2 separate regions of the Homo sapiens genome follow, and region 2 is linked to region 1. Evidence: promoter capture Hi-C in human tissues and cell types (Jung and others, 2019). All regions are on one chromosome and are shown on one strand. The core of a region is centred on a gene start or on the middle of the fragment in contact, and the rest is flanking DNA. Distances in the headings are between cores, read along the strand shown. Region 1 holds the start of FBXO42 (F-box protein 42). Region 2 has its middle 7.9 kb from the start of SRARP.

What was found. Contacts are between HindIII fragments. The study calls those that stand out against the background at their distance.
Region 2: a contact is called between a fragment that was not itself captured here and the fragment with the promoter of FBXO42 in region 1, in 2 of the 25 tissues and cell types used here (adrenal gland and thymus).

Annotation. Positions count from the first base shown.
Region 1 is chr1:16,350,567-16,354,626 of GRCh38, forward strand. It overlaps FBXO42 (F-box protein 42), which reads right to left and starts at 1,914. Exons shown (of 10, transcript NM_018994.3): 1 at 1,689-1,914. RefSeq lists an enhancer at 1,179-1,953. The HindIII fragment of the contact is 10,214 bases long and covers 1-4,060 here.
Region 2 is chr1:15,994,300-15,998,359 of GRCh38, forward strand. It overlaps the pseudogene TBC1D3P6. Among named protein-coding and RNA genes, the nearest start is that of SRARP, 7.9 kb to the right of the region's middle. RefSeq lists an enhancer at 1-437 and a silencer at 344-493. The HindIII fragment of the contact is 7,612 bases long and covers 1-4,060 here.

The DNA of each region.
Region 1 (4,060 bases), core at 664-3,163:
AAATTACAAAAAAAAAAAAAAAAAAAAAAAAATTAGCGGGCGTGGTGGCGCACACCTGTAATCCCAGCTACTCAGGAAGCTGAGGCAGGAGAATCGCTTAAACCCAGGGGATGGAGATTGCAGAGAGCCGAGACTGTGCTACTGCACTCCAGCCTGGATGACAGAGTGAGAAACTGCAAAAAAAAAAAAAAAAAGAAAGAAAGAAAGAAAGAAAGAAAGAAAGAAAGAAAATGGTCAAATAATAACCTAAACAGTTGTCATTTTAACAATGAAAAGCTTTTTAAGATACGCAACATGCCTATGGATCAATGTAGATTGAATCATCTATTTATACTGGCTTGTCAAAAGCAAACAGTTACTGGGTATAAAATGACAACATACAATAGAAAAGACACCCAATCAGATTACACACGTGAATACACTCAAAGTTAGCAATTTAACACAGCATCACTAATGGCCATAAGATATACAGACTTAATTCTAAATATTCAATTCTAAATGATGGTACTTCCCCCAAATTTTCCTTGCCTCTTTAAATCCATGATGTCATCATTCTTAAGCAGAAGTAAAGCCAATTTGTTACAAAAGATATTTTGGTGTGTCCAAGCAAAAGCAATCGCCTCAACAATTCTGCATAGCACAAGTTCAGTGAAGCCATCATTCCTCAAGAAAGAGACCACAAGGCTTCAAACCGACTTCCCTACATGACAGAAACACAATCGAAGTCTCCCAATTAGCATTTAAACAGCAATAAAAGTTGTTCTCAAAAAGGAACAACATAGTTTCAACGTCGGGGCCAGCAACTGCCAGCAAGTAAAACTGGTAATGTGTCAGAATCTTCATCTAGATCGATCAGAATCCCACCACAGAAAAATCCAGACTCTGGCAATTAAGAAATGAGGCTTTTATTTTCCTAACAGAAATCGGGAGATTTAACAGACAAAGCAATTGGTTATTCTGAATCTTAACAAACCGAAGGTTTCAAACGAACTCAGCGCTGAAGTTACTCTGCAGCGACCATCAAGATCTCACAATCGTTTTCTCTTCGCTTACAAATTCGTTCCCACCCTCCACCGTTCCCTTTGCACACACAATTCTCGCCAAGAGAAGCCTTCCACAGTCACAGCATGGATTGCTGTCTCAAGCAAGGAGATCCGCAGTTCCCATTTCTCTAAGGGAACACTCAACAAGCTAGGGGATAGGAAAGGCCTTTTGTGTTTTATTTAACGTAAACCAATTCCAAAATTATCCCTTTGCAGCTGCAGGTTCAGAGATGCTAGCCCCCAGCCGCAGCCCCAATTTTGATGGGCACCCGACCCCCGACTCCTCTCTCGCAAAGGAGTGAAATGTTCGGAGGAGCGATGAAAGATTACCTGACACCCTAAAGCCATCCTTGCCCGGGCCACACACCCCTTCACTGCCCGGGTGAGGGGACGAGAACCACCCTGCTGAGGAGAGGGGGTGGGTTCGCTCCCAACCCAAGGGCTGGCTGGAAAGGAGCTGTCCTCCTCCTCGCCTCACTCGAGGACGGCGATAGCAAGTCACCCTGCCCAACCAGGACCGACCCCCGCGTGGGATACGGGGCCTGCGTCAGACCCCGGGCGCCCGCTGCCCCTTGCCAGTCCCGGGCATAAAGGGCAGAAGGCGCCGGCTCCCCTCTGCGGCCCGGGGAGGAGGAGAGGCCTCACCTGGCCCAGCCCGCTCCACGCTCTCGGGTTCGCTCCGCTGGCGACGGTAATGAGGGAGCCAGGGACAGGGCCAGAGCAGAGGCGCTCTGCCTCAGGCCGCGACAGCCGTGCTCGGGGCTCCTCACAGCTGGCGGGACCCCGAGCCGCCCGGAGCCGCCATCTTCCTCCACTCAAACGCCGCCGCCGCCGCAGCTGCTGCTGCTCAGGCCGGGAGAAGACAGCGCAGAGCGCGCATGCGCCGGGGCGGGCGCGGCGGACGCGCGCGCACTCACGTCAGCGCGGCGGGATGGCGAGGGGCGGCCAGGGGGCGGCGCAGTGTTGAGAAAGGCCGTGGTCACAGGCCGAGGTTCTGTGGAGGGTGGAATGCGCTCGGGGGAGCTAGGCCTCCGCACCCGCCTTCGCCGCGTCTCTAGCGTCGACCTGATAGCCGCACCCACCCTCCGCTGCACTGTCTGGGGCAACTGGGTGGTTTTCCCGGTGGTTTGAGACTAACATTTAGCCAGGAATTAACTCACTTCTACCCCGAGGGCCCGATGAGCAGAGAGGGCTGTGGCGGATGTGAGTGCTCTTGGATATCGCCAAGGGGAGGGAAACTGTGCTTGAGGTGTGCAGGAGAAGTCTTCCCTTAACCGTAGCCTCGTAGCAACCACTGTGAGTTCTTACTAGCTCCACTTTTCAGATGAGGAAACTGAGGCACAGAAAACGATCACTTATTTGCCCGGAGTCACACACCTATCAGTGGAGGTGGGGCGGCGCGGGAAAGAGGATTTAAACTCAGGCTTGTCTGGTTCCCAAGCTCCTTTACTTCCTACTAGCTAGGTTATAGGATCCAGCAAAGTCCCCCTTCTCAAGGGAGCAACCTGGTGTGTAGGTGAGAACCTTCATGAGCCCAGCCCTACAGCATGTGGTCTAAGGAAATGCCAGATACAGAGTCAAAGGCTTCAGTCTAAACTCTGTAAGCCAAAAAAACAAAACAAAACAAAACAAAAAACTAAGCCCCCACCCCCCCCCCAACACCAAACCATCTGAACGGACTTCCTCCTAGGCCAGGGCAGTCTAAAATGTAACCAACCTGAGAGACTGGTTCAGGCCATGACGGGAAGCAGGACATGAGACATGCCTCATTACATCCTTCAGCATTGACATCAACACAACAGACCTTAAGACTGGTAAGAAACATTTACAATCTGTTCTCTCTGGAGCCCACCTGCCACTTGGAGGCTTCACGTGCGTGATAAAACTTTGGTGTCCACAATCCCTTATCATAACCCAGACATTCATTTCTATTGATAATAACTTTTTTTTTTTTGAGACAGGGTCTAACTCTGTTGCCCAGGCTGGAGTCCAGTGATGAGTTCTTGGTTCGCTGCAACCTCTGTCTTTCAGGCTCAAGCTATCCTCCTACCTTAGCCTCCTGAGTAACTGGGACTACAGGCGGGCACCACCATGCCTGGCTAATTTTTCCATTTTTTTTGTAGACACAGGGTTTCGCCATGTTGTCCACTCTCATCTCAAACTCCTGAGCTCAAGTAATCCACTTGCCTCGGCCTCCCAAAATGCTTGGATTACAGGCGTGTGCCACCGCACCAGGCCTATTGATAATAACTATTTCAACTCATTGCCAATCAGAAAATGTTTAAATCTGCCTATAATGTGGAAGCCCCCACTTCAAGTTTCCGGTCTTTCTGCACCGAACCAATGTAGTTTTTATTTATTTATTTACTTATTTTTATTTATTTGTTTATTTTTTTGAGACTGAGTCTTGCTCTGTCGCCCAGACTAGAGTGCAGTGGCACCATCTCCGCTCACTGCAACTTCCGCCTCCTGGGTTCAACCGATTCTCCTGCCTCAGCCTCCCGAGTAGCTGGGATTACAGGCGCCCGCCACCGTGCCCAGCTAATTTTTGTATTTTCAGTAGAAAATACAAAATTCAGTAGAAAATACGGGGTTTCACCATCTTGGACAGGCTGGTCTCAAACTCCTGAACTCGTGATCCACTCACCTCGGCCTTCCAAAGTTCTGGGATTACAGGTGTGAGCCACGGCGCCTGGCCTTTTTATGTATTTATTGAGACAGGGTCTCACTCTTCGCCCAGGCTGGAGTGCAGTGGTGTGATCTCCACTCACTGCAACCTCTGCCTCCCAGGTCCAAACGATTCTCGTGCCTCAACCTCCTGAGTAGCTGGGATTACAGACATGTGCCACCACACCCAGCTAATTTTTGTATTTTTAGTAAAGACGGGGTTTCACCATGTTGGCCAGGCTGGTCTCGAACTCTTGCCTCAGTTGATCCACCCGCCTCGGCCTCCCAAAGTGCTGGGATTACAGGCATACGCCCCTGCACCTGGCCCTGTATTAATATATCTTAAATGT
Region 2 (4,060 bases), core at 579-3,078, 360 kb before region 1:
AGCCTCGCAGCCACTGCTGGAGCCACAGCAGGCGCCCCCACCACGTGCCTTCCAGCTGCTGGTGCAGGCTTTCCTGACAGCAGGGCGCCCTGCAGCCCTCGCCTCAGCAGCTCAGACTTGGAAGGTATCTGTGGCTCAAGTTCCCAGTGCTCCCACCGAAGAGAATTACTACGGAGGATGCTCTGGGTCCTGAGTCGAGCAAAATGGCACGCCCTATGGATGCAGCCTGCTTCTTTCCCGGCCACCACGCCTGCTGGATGCGCCCACCGAGCAAGTGGTCTTGAGACGGTCATGGGGACGGAAGAGGTTCAGCATCCTGCACGGGCCCTTACCAAGGCTCACTAGGCTGACACCATGGCTGAGCGCCCTCTCTATTGACAAGAGACTTGCACCCAGTCCCTGGGATGGACCAGCTGGCCACCTGCTGGCAGGCTGGTCACACTGCGGAGGGGGCTGAGATTGGCTTTCACTGCACTGACCCATAATGTGGACATGGACCTGCTGGCCCTGCAGGGCACACAGCACTGCTTCCGACTAGGGGACCCCATTCACAGCTAGAGACATGCAGCAGTGTGTTCCCACCTCAGGGCCTTGGCTCTGCCACCTCTACTTGGAATGTTCTCAGTTCCCTCCAGGCTTCTAGAAGCATCTAGGCCAGGGCTCATGACTGGATAAACAACCGAATCCCCACAACCCAAACAAGCTTTTCATTCTCATTTTATTTGGTGTTAAACTTAAGAAAATGTATTAAGACATGACTTACATCCCTGGTAAGTGTGCAGCTCGAAAGACATTCACAGATGGAACACACCAGCCCCCAGATCACAAAGCCAACCATGGCCAGCCCCTCCAGCGCCCCCGGCCCCACAACCAGTGTCCTGACTTCCGTTGACACCATGAGCCTGTCTTTTGTACTTTACACTCATGGAAGGATAAACACTTTCACGTTTTAAAATAAATGTTTACTTTTGAAATGATTCTAGATACACAGAAAAATTGAAAAGACACTGTAGTGTACTCTACACCTTATACCCAGCTGCCCCTAGTAATGACATTTTGCATTACCATGGCACATTTGTCCAAACTAAGAAATGTGGGCTGGCTGTAGTGGCTCACACCTGTAATCCCAGCAATTTGAGAGGTTGAGGCAGGTTCACTTGAGCCCAGGAGTTTGAGACCAGCCTGCGCAACACAGGTAGGCCTTGCCTCTAGAGAAAAGTAAAAAAAAATAGCCAGGCATGATGGCGTGTGCCTATAGTCCCACCTAATCAGGAGGCTGAGGCAGGAGGATTGCTCGAGCCCAAGAGTTCCAGGAAGCAGTGAGCTATGATCGCACCACTGCACTCCAGCCTAGGTGACAGAATGAGAATTTATCTCTTTAAAAAAATTAATTTATCTTGGGTGCAATCCTGTTAACTAAATAATAATGTTAACTATTATCTAAAGTTATTAACGCAGTAATTATATTAACATAGTGAAATTTTTTCAGATTTCATCCTCTTTTGCCTAACTTCTTGTACCTGTCCTGGGATCCCACCTCAGACTCACCCTCTGCCTTTAGGTCACTTCTCCTTAGCTTCCTCCAGAGGCTACAGCCAAACACACACCTGGGCTGAATAGTAGAGCTGGTTGCTGCTGGGTTCCAAACCTCTGCAACATGTTACTGTACTAAGTACTATAGGCAATGGTAACATAATGGCGGCTATTTGTGGGCCGGGCATGGTGGCTCATGCCTGTAATCCCAGCACTTTGGGAGGCCGAGGCGGCTGGATCACCTGAGGTTAAGAGATTGAGACCAGCCTGGCCAACGCGGTGAAACCCCGTCTCTACTAAAAATACAAAAAATGGCTGCCCAGATATCTGCTGGGCATGGTGACGGGCACCTGTAATCCCAAATACTCAGGAGGCTGAGGCAGGAGAATCGCTTGAACCTGGGAGGCGGAGATTGCAGTGAGCTGAGATCGCATCATTGCACTCCAACCTGGGCAACAAGAGTGAAACTCTGTCTCAAACAAACAAGCAAACAAACAAAAACAATGGTGGCTATTTGTGTATTTAAACACAGAAAAGGATCATAAAAATACAGTATAAATGATAAAAAATGGTACACCTGGCCAAGTATGGTGGTTCATACCTACAATCCCAGCACTTTGGGAGGCCATGCTGGGAGGATCACTTGAGCCCAGGACTTCTAGACTAGTCTGGGCAATATAAAAAGACCCCATCTCTTTTGAGATATCAATTTTTAGAGATGGTGCACCTGTATAGGGCAGTTCCATTATAATCTTATGGGACCACCATCCTATGTGCATTCTGGCATGGACTGAAATATCATTATCTGACATGTGATTGCATAAGTAATCTAGAGATGATTTAAAGTCTACGGGAAGATGTACTTAGGCTATATGCAAATACTGCACCATTTTATATCAGGACTTGAACATCTGTGGATTTTGGTATTTGTGGAAGGTGGTGAAACTGATTCCCCTACACACACCGAGGGACAACTGTAAATCTTCCGGGCCCCATAGAAGGCTCAATTCCCTGCACCCCCACCCCCAGATAAGCATTCTAAAGTGTTTGTTCACTTTACCTGCTCATCCGTGAGCCAGAGGGTTCCATCAACAGCTTGGGCTGTCTCAGAGAGACCTGGATTCAATCCCATTCAGCCACTTAGTGTGTCACTTTGGACAAACCATGTAACTTCTCTGAGCCTCAGTGTCCTCATCTGTAAACTGGGTTGATCATGGTCCTTACCTCACAGGGCCACTGTGAGATGAAAGCTGACACCGCGAGTGACACCACTTCTCTCTCCCTCAGACTCAACAGGAAGATGCCTTTGCTGCCCAATGCGAAGGTTATGGGGAGGACGCGAGGCCCCAAGGTTCCCCTGTCCCAGGAGCATAAACCCTGGATTTTTGCTTCCAGAAACAACCACCTCTAGGATGAGGATGGCTCTCAACTCCCCAAAGCCTGTGCTACCACCCCACAAAGGCAGCGTCTTCAGCAGTGGGGAAGGGGCTGCACTGCGCCAGCCTCACCCTGGCCACTGTCTGCCCTCATGAGTCAGAGCCCAGCTAGGTCCTCAAGCAGAGCAGTGCAGAGTCCGGCCCCAGTCCCAGGCTCCAGGCATCCCTGCCACCCCCACCTGCCCCCACCAGCTGCCTCCATCCCTTAGCCCCTGCTTCCCTCCTTCCCAGCTCAGGATGTCTTAGCTCCTTACATGTCCCCATCATCTGTCTCCTCAAGGGGAGTGCAGCACAAGGGCAGGGAACTCGGCCAGTCTATGGCTGAGTCTCCGGTGTCTGGGAGAGATTAGAAGCTCAACACATACTTGCCCAGTGTCTGTGTGCATTTCATCAAGCAGAAGACAGCTTTGGAAATGAGAAGAGACCCTCCTGAGGCGACAGTCCTTAGCTGCCATTTCTCAAGTATTCTTGGCGTGCCACGCACTAAGCTGGACCATGGACATGCGAGCTCTGGAACCCGTGAGGTGCTGTCACTCATGCACAGGTGGGTTGGCTCAGCCCTGGTGCAGTCACATAGCTCCCTGCTAGCTGAGCTGAAATTGGAACCCATTCAGTTTGGCTCTTGCACTGCACAATGGCTCCCCAGCTCCTCTGAGTGAGAACTAAAGCCTTGCAATGCCCTCAGGTCATTGAACCTGGGACTTCTCTTCCTGAGCTGCCTGCCGCTCTTCCCTGCTCACACCAGGTCAGATGCAGACCTCCCCTCTGGGCCTGAAGCATATCAATCATGCTCCTGCCTCAGGGCCTTTGCACAAGCCATTCCCACTGCCCGGAATGCTCCCTGCCCAGATATCTGCTTGGCTGACCCATCACCTCCTACAAACCTTGCTCAGATCTTGCCTCATCAATGAGGACAACCCTGGCCATGCGTCTAGAGGGCGTCCAGCACAGAGTATGTGCTCAATACACAGGTGAAGAAGGAAGAAGGAAGGGATGGAGAAGAGAGAGGTGAAGGAAGGGCAGAATGCCTATGGCCATTTTTATTCCAGTGATAACTAGTTGCAGTGAATACCTAAGGGCAATGCAGACAG